Regions from separate parts of the Homo sapiens genome. Here region 2 is linked to region 1. Evidence: promoter capture Hi-C in human tissues and cell types (Jung and others, 2019). All regions are on one chromosome and are shown on one strand. The core of a region is centred on a gene start or on the middle of the fragment in contact, and the rest is flanking DNA. Distances in the headings are between cores, read along the strand shown.

Region 1 (5,621 bases), core at 782-3,281:
TGCCAGGTTTCTCTACTGTGAAGTTACTATTCATCTCATTGTAATTAATAAGTATCTTGTGGACAGGTACTTTGGAAATATGCAAATAGCCAGTTTGTTCTTAGCATACTTTTACCAATTAATTTCTAGAATCCAGAGATAATTGTAGCCGATAAACAATTCTTACTGTGGTGTTAGCCAGTGATTTTCTGCTTCCATCATTGCTTCTACACTGATTAACTGGAACGCTGCTGTAAGAAAGAGCTAGTTCTTCTTTCTCATTTATTTATGTATTCACTTATTTATATATATATCAGCATGGACTCTCAAGTATTTATCGGTTGGACTACATTACTATTATTATTGATTATGTTGCTATATTGTCCCCAAATTGGCCATTGGGAGCTTCTTCTAGTTGGCATTTGTGATACTTTCCACACATCCCCATCATTTTTCAAGTTGTGCCTTACTCTCAGGCCCCGCAAGATGCTCCAGTCTCCTCTTGTGGTTTCCTGCCCCAGCCCTGGAATCAGCCATTTCTCCAGGGAACCCTGGTTCCTTTCATGGGAGAATGATGTTTACAGACCATGGGCGCCCATATGCCCATTGCTAGTAGGTGCCGGTGCTTCTATGCCCTCTAGTGGTCAGAGCTGGGAAATAACACACCCACACTAGTGTACTGTTACCCACATTTCACAAATTAGGTAAATGAGGCACAGAAAAGTTAGGCAACTTGACCAACATCACAGAGAAAATAGGTAGTGGAACTGGGAAATGAAAATAATGACAGATGCACCACAAGTTCTAACAAGCAAAAGTAGCTTTTTCACACATCCACATCAGCAGAAAGCCACAAGCCCAATATTCCGGCGTAGACACTCTTTGAAAACCAGAATTCCACAGCAATAACCACGATGACAACCACCATGTACTCAACACCCGCCTGGGCACGGGGCTCCCACAGCAGCTCACTTATTCCCAACAACTCTGCAAGGAGGATTTTACCATCCTCCTTTTACAAATCAGGGAATCAAGGATCATAGAAGCCACGTGACTTGTCCAAGTCAACATAGTTAAGTGACAGAACCATTAGCTGTCCCCAGGTACATCTGGACATAAAGTTCATGTTTATGCCACTGTGTCAGCATTTCCAAAAACTGATTTTAGGCGAAACGTAAGTAAGCTTTTTAAAAACTTTAATACTTATGCGTTTATTTTAATATACATTGAGAAAACATTTAAGCACACATCAAATCTGTAATTTCATGGACAATATTGCATAAGACAAGGATGTTTTGTCTCCAACTCCTGGCCTCAAGCCATCCTCCCACCATAGCCTCTCGAGTAGCTGGGATCACAGATCTGAGCCACCGATCCCTGCTAGGACAGGATGTTTTGTAAACTAAATTTATTTAGAAAAAAGGATGAAATATATAATAATAAAGGTGGTACAAGCTAGAGAGAAAATCATAAAGTCAGCCTAGAAATGTCTGGTGTCTGGATGACATAAAGCTACAGCACTGTGAAGCCTCATTCTCAGTTACTCCCAGGAAATTAGAGTCACATAATGCTGCAGAAAGAACAGCTCAGAATCTTAGATCCGGGCTTTAGCCCTAGATATATCCATTTGTAGGACCCCAGACATCTCTGTGACCTCCTTGCTGGGAGTAAATCCAACCTTCCCAGACATGTGAGAACAGTAAGAAGACCCTGCACACACAAAGGAGTTTCTCCGTCACAGAGAAAATAACACCAGGTTCAGGGACCCCAGGGACTCTGCATGGTGCTGACAGACCCAAGGCCAAGGCAGAGCAGAGGTCCACGCTGGGGAGGGAGGGTCATCCTGTTATGAAACAGGGATCCAAGTAAGCCTTGCTTCTCAGAGCCTGGTCTGGGGAACTCAAATGTAGACAGAAGGGAGAAAGGAAGAAGAGAAAATGAGGCAAAACTGAGAGGGGAGGGGACAGAGAGGTGACCTGGGCAGAGCTTCACCCATGACCCTGGAAAGTGCTCCTGCCCTGGGAGGAGGCTCAGCATGGAAAGAGGAAGGACAGCAGAGCCTAAGTCACAGTAGCCCTGACTACAGCATTCCTGGAGCCCAGGCTCTTTTCCACAGAGGAGGAAAGAGCAGGCAGCAGAGACCATGGGGCCCCCCTCAGCCTCTCCCCACAGAGAATGCATCCCCTGGCAGGGGCTTCTGCTCACAGGTGAGTGGAGGATTCCTGGGAGTGGGCAAGAGGAGGGATCACAGAGAATGGCTGGGGTCTCCTGGGGAGGATGGGGCTCTGATAGGGGACAGAAGGCTTCTGCTGAAGCCTCAGGGGAGAGAACATCAGAGAGGGACACGGGTCACAACAAGACAATCACATTGAACTGGGATTGATAAGAGGGAGGAAAATCCATTGATCATGTTTTCCAAGTTAATCATTACTGGCCACTACAATTAGAAAATGATAAGAATAAGAATTACATCAGGGTGATACTTTAAATAAAAATATAACCAGGGCACTAAAACCTGTCTTTGACCACCAACCACAAGTTGCAAAATAACCACCACTCCTTAACTCATCCACCAGTATTTGCAATCAAATTTTAGGCACTGGCGTACAACAAATATCAGACAAGTCTCTGTGTTCAAAGAGCTTACACTCTTGCAGAGATGAAGATAGACACCCAAAGAGATCTAGAATGTGAGTTCAGGTGTTGACAAGAGCCCTGGAGGGAACAGAGCAGAAAAAGGTCAGAAAGGGAAGACCCAGGGTCTCTAGAGGAGGTGTCAGGGGAGGGATCTCCCAAGGATGCCCTGATGTGAGCAGGATCTGAGGGCAGTGGGGAGGGAGCCATGCAGACCCCTGGGGAAGGGGATTCCACACAGGAAAATGCCAAGGTTAGAGGTGCTGAAGAAAGAAAGGTCACGTTACTGACCTTGACCAAGTGGGACACACATACACTCTCCAAGGCTGAAGGGTGAAGAGACTCTCTCAGGACCCAGGGCCCCATCTTTCCATCCCAATACATGGGTCCCAATATTGACTGATGCTTTCTCCCTCCTAGCCTCACTTCTAAACTTCTGGAACCCGCCCACCACTGCCAAGCTCACTATTGAATCCATGCCGCTCAGTGTCGCAGAGGGGAAGGAGGTGCTTCTACTTGTCCACAATCTGCCCCAGCATCTTTTTGGCTACAGCTGGTACAAAGGGGAAAGAGTGGATGGCAACAGTCTAATTGTAGGATATGTAATAGGAACTCAACAAGCTACCCCAGGGGCCGCATACAGCGGTCGAGAGACAATATACACCAATGCATCCCTGCTGATCCAGAATGTCACCCAGAATGACATAGGATTCTACACCCTACAAGTCATAAAGTCAGATCTTGTGAATGAAGAAGCAACTGGACAGTTCCATGTATACCGTGAGTATTTCCACATGACCTCTGGGTGTTGGGGGTCAGTTCTACTTCCCACATATGGGATTGTCAGGCCTGGGCTGTGCCTGTGGCCCTCTCTGCATTACATTCTGTATCAGGGTTTGGACATTTAGTGCAGGACACACACGGGGGAGACAAACTTCCACAGATCAGAATTCCTTTCCTGCATCCAGACCCTGCAGACACTCGCTGCAGAGGAAGGACAGTCTGATGGGGGGACTCAGCAGGGCAAGGTCAGTGTCAGAAAAGAACCCCATGGTCTCCCCATGGACCTGACCCTAAGAAAGACCCTGGAGAACTGGATCAGGGCCTGGCCTGAGGGGTCCCCCTAGGATTCTCAGAGAGAAGCTCAACTCTTCCCAGAACTGAGCCCCTGTGCAAATCCCTGTCCCAGATTCCTGACTCCAGGTGACCCTGGGGACCCTAGGGATCCTGTGCCAGGGCTGAGTGAGGCCTCCTGGGCAGGGCTGACTGGGAGCAAGAATTTACCAGCTGTCTGAGGGTCGTGGCTCCTGGAGTTGGTCACCAGCCAGGGTCCAGCCCCAAGAACCTCTCCTGGGCAAGGACAGGGCCTCATCCTTTACCTGAGACTCAGCATGGAGTGAACAGATGGACAAGATTACTAGGGCATGAGCCCACTGCCCAGGGGAACTTAGATGACTCCATGGGAAGTTCAGTATCCCCAGGGGGAGGAAAAAGAAGAGAGAAGATGCTCCCAGCAGCTCCTTTTCCACAAGGGATCAGACTCAGGGACCTCTCTTTTGGAGGCAAATAAGCATAGATGCTGTTCCTTTGGGCAGCTCCTCTATACACAGCTGAGGTCAAGTAATTGTAAATATTTTGAGATTAATTCACAAACAACGTCACAGCCAAATAGCACTTATCCTACTTATTGAAAAAAAAAATTGAGGAACAGGGAGACAGTCACCGACTAGGGTCACACAAGTCAAAGGTGTCAGATTAGAGTCACACGAGGTCTCTCTGCAGCCACAGCTGCCTCTTCTCCACCAGGGGACGGCTGGCGTTATTATTAGACATCTGCAGGCCTGAGACCAGTCCTAAGTTCTCTTTCCTTTTTCTTGGGCATCCACATCTCAGAGGGGGAGATTTTGGTCTGGAGAGTAAGGGGCAAATGGAAAATTAATCAATTTTTCCTGATATAGTTTGGATGTTTATCCTCTCCAAATCTCATGTTGAAATGTGATCCCCAACATTGGAGGTGAGGCCTGGTGGGAGGCGATTGGATCATGGGGGGCTGTTTCTCATGAGTGGCTCAGCACCATCCCCTTGGTGACAAGTCAGTTCTCACTTTGAGTGCACAGGAGATCTGGTTCTTTAAAAGTGTGTGGCGCCTCCACACTCTCTCTTGCTCCTGCTTTTGCCACATGACACCACCTGCTCCCCCTTCTCCTTCCACCATGATTGTAAGCTTGCTGGGTCTCACCAGAAGCCGAGCAGACGCTGGTGCCATGCCTGTATAGCCTGCAGATCCCTGCATCAATTAAATCTCTTTTCTTTATAAATTACCCAGCCTCAGACATTTCCTTATAGTAACAAAAAATAGCCTAACACATTAGCCTAACCTAGAACTAAATCCCTTGTGTCAACAGAGTCAGTGCCAGGAATGTCCGGGCCTCCCTCTCAGATGCGCACCACTGCCCTCACTCGACCTGAAATCCTGTGTTTCCTGATGTGTCAGTGACACTCCCACAGGAGGATAAAACACTCCCCACTCACACCCTGCACCAGCGCAGGGCCCAGTGAGAGACACACACTCAGTAGTTCTCTGACGAAGGAGGGAAGGAATGAATGATGAATAATTCTTAAACTCTTCAGAGACCGGATCTTGGATGCAGAATCCTATAAGGTTCTGGCCACACCTGTTTCCTGTCCCTCCAGGGGCCGGGATCCTTGTTGCATTCCTCTAACCCCTGCCCCTAAAGCTACCCCAAGAACCGCATCTCATGGGACTCTGGCACAGCTCACCTGTGGGAAGGTTTTCAGGTCTCCCTGGTCCTGGTTTGTGGGCGGCAGGTCACCCAGGCGCCGAGGCAAGAGACCAAGGACACGAGCTGTTCCAGTATAATAAAATATAAAACAAGAAAAGTTATACCAGATATAGATCTTAGATATGATTATATGTGAATATCATTAATCATTAGTTGGTAGCAATTACTCTTTATTCCAGTATTATAATAATCCTCGCTCTATAA
Region 2 (5,621 bases), core at 1,540-4,039, 70 kb before region 1:
TCTAAGTGTTAGTGATGTTGAGCATATTTGCATGTGCTTGTTGGCCATTTGTATATCTTCCTAGGAGAAATCTCTACTTTAGTCCTTTGTCCATTTATTAATTGGGATTTTGGATTTTTGTGGTTGTTGATTTGTAAGAGTTCTTCATATATTCTGGAAATTAATCCCTTATCAGATATATGATTTGCAAATATATTTCCCATTTCATAGGTTGCCTTTTCACTTTCTCGATAATGTTCTTTAATATATAAAAGTTTTTAATTTTCGAGGCCCTGCACGGTGGTTCCTGTAATCCCAGCACTTTGGGAGGCCGAGGCAGGTAGATTACAAGGTCAGGAGATCAAGACCATCCTGGCTAACACAGTGAAACCCCGTCTCTACTAAAAATACAAAAAAAATTATCCAGGCGTGGTGGTGGGCGCCTGTAGTCCCAGCTACTCAAGAGGCTGAGGCAGGAGAATGGCATGAACCCAGGAGGCATAGCTTGCAGTGAGCTGAGATCGCACCACTGCACTCCAGCCAGGGTGACAGAGCGAGACTCTGTCAAAAAAAAAAAAAAAAAGTTTTTAATTTTCATGAAGTCCAGTTTATCAATTTTTTTCTTTTGTTGCCTATTTGTTGTTATAACCAAGACATGACTGTGAAATTAAATGTCATTAAGCTTTTTTCCCTATGTTTTCTTCTCAGAGTTTTATACTTTTCACTCTTACATTTAGGTCTTTGATCCATTTTAGGTTAATTTGCATATATGGTATCAGGCAAAGATTCAACTTGTTCTTGTGCATGGATATTCAGCTTTCCCTATATCATTTGTTGAAAAGACTGTCCTTTCCCCATTAAATGGTCTTGGCACCGTTATCAAAAATCATTTGGCCATATATGCAAGCATTTCTTTCTGGGCTCTATATTCTATTGCTTTGGTTTCAATATCTTCCTTTATGCCAATACCACACTGTATTGATTACTGTGGCTTTATAGCAAATGCTGAAATCAGGAAGTGTGAGTCCTCCAGCTTCATTCTTTATTTTCCAGGTTGTTTGGCTATTTAGAGTCCTGAGATTCCATATGAATTTCAGGATATGTTTTTCTATTTCTGCAAAAAATGTCACTGGGACTCTGGTACAAATTGCGTTGAACCTGCAGCTCACTTTGAGTGGTATTGTCCTCCTAGCAATATTGAGACTTCCCATCCATGAAAAAAAAATGTCTTTCCATCTATTGATGTTGTCTTTAATTTCCTTCAGCAGTGTTTTATAGTTTTCAGGGTACAATCCTTTCACCTCCTTGGTTAAGCTTATTTCTAACTATTTTATACTATTTTATGTTAATGTGAATTGGAAATTTTTTCTTAATTTCCTTTTAGATTGTTCATTGTTAGTGTGTAGAAGTACAACTGATGTTTGCGTGTTGATTTTGTATCCTGCAACATCACTGAATTTATTTATTAACTCTAACAAGTTTTTTAATCTTCAGGGTTTTCTACAGAGAAGTCCAAGTTATCTGAAAACACAGATCATTTTACTTCTTTCCAATTTGGATGTCTTTTTTTTTCTTGCCTAATTTCTCTGGCTAGGACTTCTAATACTGTGTCGAATAGACGTGGCAAAAGCAGGCATTCTTGTCTTGTTCCTGGTCTTACAGGGAAAGCTTTCAGTCTTTCTCCATTGAGTATCATGTTAGCATTGGGCTTTTCACACATTGCCTTTATTATGCTGAGGTGGTTTCCTTCCATTCATAATTAGAGTGTTTTTGTTGTGAAAGAATGGTGAATTTTGTCAAATGCTTTTATTGGTTCTATCTAATTATAGGCCTATTAAATTTTTTTGTGTTTCCAGGAATTTGTCCATTTCATCTAGGTTATTCAACAGTTTGTTGGCATACAATTATTCATAGCATTCTTGTAGTCCTTAATATTTCTGTAGAATTTGTAGCATTGGTAGCAATATCTCCATTTTCTTTTTTTTTTTCTTTTTTTTTTTTAAGAGACAGGGTCTCACTCTGTAGCCCAGCACAAGCTAGAGTGCAGTGGTGCCATCATAGCTTACTGCAGCCTCAACCTCCAAGGCTCAAGTGATCTTCTGCCCCAGCCTCTTGAGAAGCTGGGACTACAGACATGTGACACCAAGCCTGGATAGTTTTTTAAAGAAATTTTGTAGACACTGTGTCTGCCTATGTTGCCCAGGCTGGTCTTGACCTCCTGACCTCAAGTAATCCTCTTGCTTGAGTCTCCCAATGTGCTGGGATTAAATGTGTGAGCCGCTATACCTCCATTTTCATTTCTGATTTTAGTAATTTGAATCTTCTCTCTTTTTTCTTAGTCAATCTAATAAATGATTGTCAATTTTGTTGATCTTTTTTGAAGAACCAACTTTTGGTTTCATTGATTCCTTCTATTGTTTTTCAATTTTCCATTTTATTTATTTAAACTCTAATCCTTATTATTTCCTTCATGTACTATCTGTGGTTTGAGGTGGTTCTTTTTCTGTATCCTGAAGTTGTAAAGTTAGGTTGTTGATTTGAGATCTCTCTTTATATTTAATGTATTTACCATTAAATTTCTCACACAAGATTCTTAACTTCTCTGAGCCTTCAATTCTTCAACTGAAAATTGTAATAATTCTCATCACCAGGAAATGGAGGAAAAATGAAAATTGCAATAAGAATGACTGTTTAACAGTATTGTTTTAAAGATTTAATGTAATATTCGATTAAGCTTTCAGCAAAATGCTACACACAGAGGGAAACTTCATAAATATTAGCTGCTATTATCACTACTGTTATTATTAGCTTGAAGTTAGGCAGTTCTAGAGCCAAATCCTAGATCCACTTCTCACTAATTATATGACTTTGGATAAGTTTTTTCACCACTCCAAGTCTCTGTCATTTCATCTGTAAGATGGAAATCATGCCTACCCAACAGGGTTATTGTATGGATCAAATGAGATGCCAGAAAAGCATTTACAGTAGCTAACATAGCATTAATCATCAGCCTGAGTTGACTAGTGAGAGCCAAGCCCCAAATGAAAACCCACTAGGACATGGTTACTGGCTAAAAATGGGGGAGAGAAAAAAAAGTTAAGTGCAAAGAATCAAGCCTGGTATGTTAGTTTTCATCCACTGAGATTCAGCCAAGATGGAATTAGAGGTGCAAGATAATTTACCGGGGGGAACCACCATGAGGAAAAGTGGAGTAGAAGTGGGAGGAGCCTGAGAGAGCCCTCAGACCACGATGCAGATCTGATTCCTGAGAAGGAGAAAGAGGAGAGAGTTTTAGATAGTGATGCAGTTCTCAGAGTTTCCACAAGGCTGGTGGGGCGTCCTCAAGCCCCTCACCCATGAGAGAGAAGCAGAGTCCCCCAGAACTGGGCTTTTCATTCCCCTGGTGGGAGCCCATGAGAAGCGAGTTCTCTGTGCAACGGACTTAGTAAATACAGAATGCACTAGCCTGGGCCTTCTGCCAATCAAGTCCCTGCCACAGAGACCCAACAGACTTATTTATGCCTACCACAACTGAGACACTGAGAAAAAGATGCAACCATGAAAAGATAGAAAGTTCTAATGACACGCAAAAATAGCAATCAGACTTTCTCAAATTTCAAAGCCTTCAGAAATAGCTGAGTGCAGACAGGCCAGGGTGGAATTGACAGAAGACTGATCACCAACTAGCAACACAGTGAGAGAGAAAAAATTGCAACTTTCCCACAAAACTAATGCATTCCTTGAAGCAACAAGTAGAGACTGCTTCATGCTGAGAGCTGGAACCTGGGGCACCCCACTGTAAAATAACATCACATTCATTCCTTCTCTTTTCTTTCCATGACGGACGATTCAGCATCTGGAACTTCTCCTGGTCTCTCAGCTGGGGCCACTGTCGGCATCATGATTGGAGTGCTGGTTGGGGTTGCTCTGATATAGCAGCCCTGGTGTAGTTTCTTCATTTCAGGAAGACTGGTAGGTATAATGGCCTTTCCTCTTGTTCTGTTTCCTGCAGTGCTGACTGCCATGCTTGGGAGAGGGAAGGGATTTCTTCACCTGTATCTGGGACTGGATCTCTTCCTCCTACCCCCAAGCTCCTGCTTCTCAGCACTAATTCCTGCAGGTCTCTTCTTCCCTGGTCTTCATGCTCCCTGTACGCCACTGTCTCTTAGATATAATTATCCCCACCCTCTGCTCATTTGTTTCCCAGATTCAATACATTGTCAAAGCCTCTTGGTCCTTTTTTAACATCTCACACTTGTGTCATTCTCTCCATTCCCATAAACCTCAACAACTGCTCAAAGTCCTGCTTGACCCCTTGTTGCCAGTCTTTGAAATCTTTCTTGCATATGACTGCCTCATTACCTTCCTAAAATCTAGTTCACTCGCCTACTCAAGAAGACACAGGGGCCTACTGTGGTGTATTAGATAAGTTCACATTTCTTCTCTTTACTAATCTTTTTTACTTCCTTTACCACCACTCCCTTATATAATTCCATCATCCTAATAGATCTGTTTCCCTACACATCCCTGCCTCTCCACCCCACATGTACACAGAATTCTTAGTTCCGGTGTTACACCTAAAAACATGTCAAACAGGGTGACCTCCTTCCACTGTCTGCACTGTGGAGTTACCCACACCCTTAATCACAAGCAACTTCTGACCTCATGAAGAACAAAGACTGTAGCATTAACCTGTGAGTCTTAAGCTCAGGACACAACTGTGCCTGTGACTGAGAACCTTTTCCTGATAACCAATTCATATGTTCATAACAGATACAGAAATGAAGAAGGCAAGGTCCTTAATTCTATAACAGGAGACAAAACCTGAAAAATAATCATAATGCCAAAATAGAAAGGAGTGAACATCACAAGAAATTAGAGAAATCTGACGGAAAATATAGCTACACATTGGAATCACTCAGAAACATTTTATAAAATGGATACTTAAGTCCCACCGATAAATTCCGATTTACTGGTCTGGAGTGGGACCCAGGCATTCGTAATTTTTAAGCCTCCCCAGATGCTACTAATGTGTAGCCAGGATGGAGAAACCCTGTTCTAAATAGGTAGGACTTGGGGCTAAACCCATGACTTTCAGCTAGGAGGATTAGAATTGCCCATGGAGTTTTTCTGGCTGGGCACGGTGGCTCACGCCTATAATCCCAGCACTTTGGGAGGCCAAGGCGGACGGATCAGGAGTTCAAGACCAGCCTGACCAACATGGTGAAACCCCCTCTCTACTAAAAATACAAAAAAATCAGCTGGGCATGGTGGCACGTGCCTGTAATTCCAGCTACTCAGAAGGCTGAGGCAGGAGAATCGCTTGAACCCGGGAGGTGGAGATTGCAGTGAGCCGAGATCGTGCCACTGCACTCCAGCCTGGGCGACAGAGCAAGACTCCGTCTCAAAAAAAAAAAAAAAAAAAGAATTGCCTGTGGAGTTTTTCAACATACGTAAGCCTATACTTTGTTGGCCCTGTTCATTAATGGGCTCCACCAGGAAATTAGGAATCTAGTTGAGAAACAGAAGCTGAATGGAAAGGCCACCTTATTTGATATGTTAAATTATATGGGAAGCACTGTCAAATCATTAGTGATGTTAAACCTTCTCTAAGTTATATTTATGAGTATGTTATTGATGTA

Evidence for each region. The method cuts DNA at HindIII sites, captures the fragments that hold promoters and counts their contacts. A contact is called where the count stands out against the background at its distance.
Region 2: a fragment that was not itself captured here is called in contact with the fragment with the promoter of CEACAM3 in region 1 in 6 of the 25 tissues and cell types used here (H1 embryonic stem cells, IMR-90 fibroblasts, aorta and 3 more).

What each region holds. Positions count from the first base shown.
Region 1 is chr19:41,794,556-41,800,176 of GRCh38, forward strand. CEACAM3 (CEA cell adhesion molecule 3) reads left to right here and starts at 2,032. Exons shown (of 7, transcript NM_001815.5): 1 at 2,032-2,186; 2 at 3,034-3,393. The coding sequence starts at 2,123. The HindIII fragment of the contact is 7,198 bases long and covers 1-5,621 here.
Region 2 is chr19:41,723,402-41,729,022 of GRCh38, forward strand. CEACAM5 (CEA cell adhesion molecule 5) reads left to right here. Exons shown (of 10, transcript NM_004363.6): 9 at 3,833-3,951. The coding sequence ends at 3,915. Among named protein-coding and RNA genes, the nearest start is that of CEACAM5, 18 kb to the left of the region's middle. The HindIII fragment of the contact is 5,255 bases long and covers 163-5,417 here.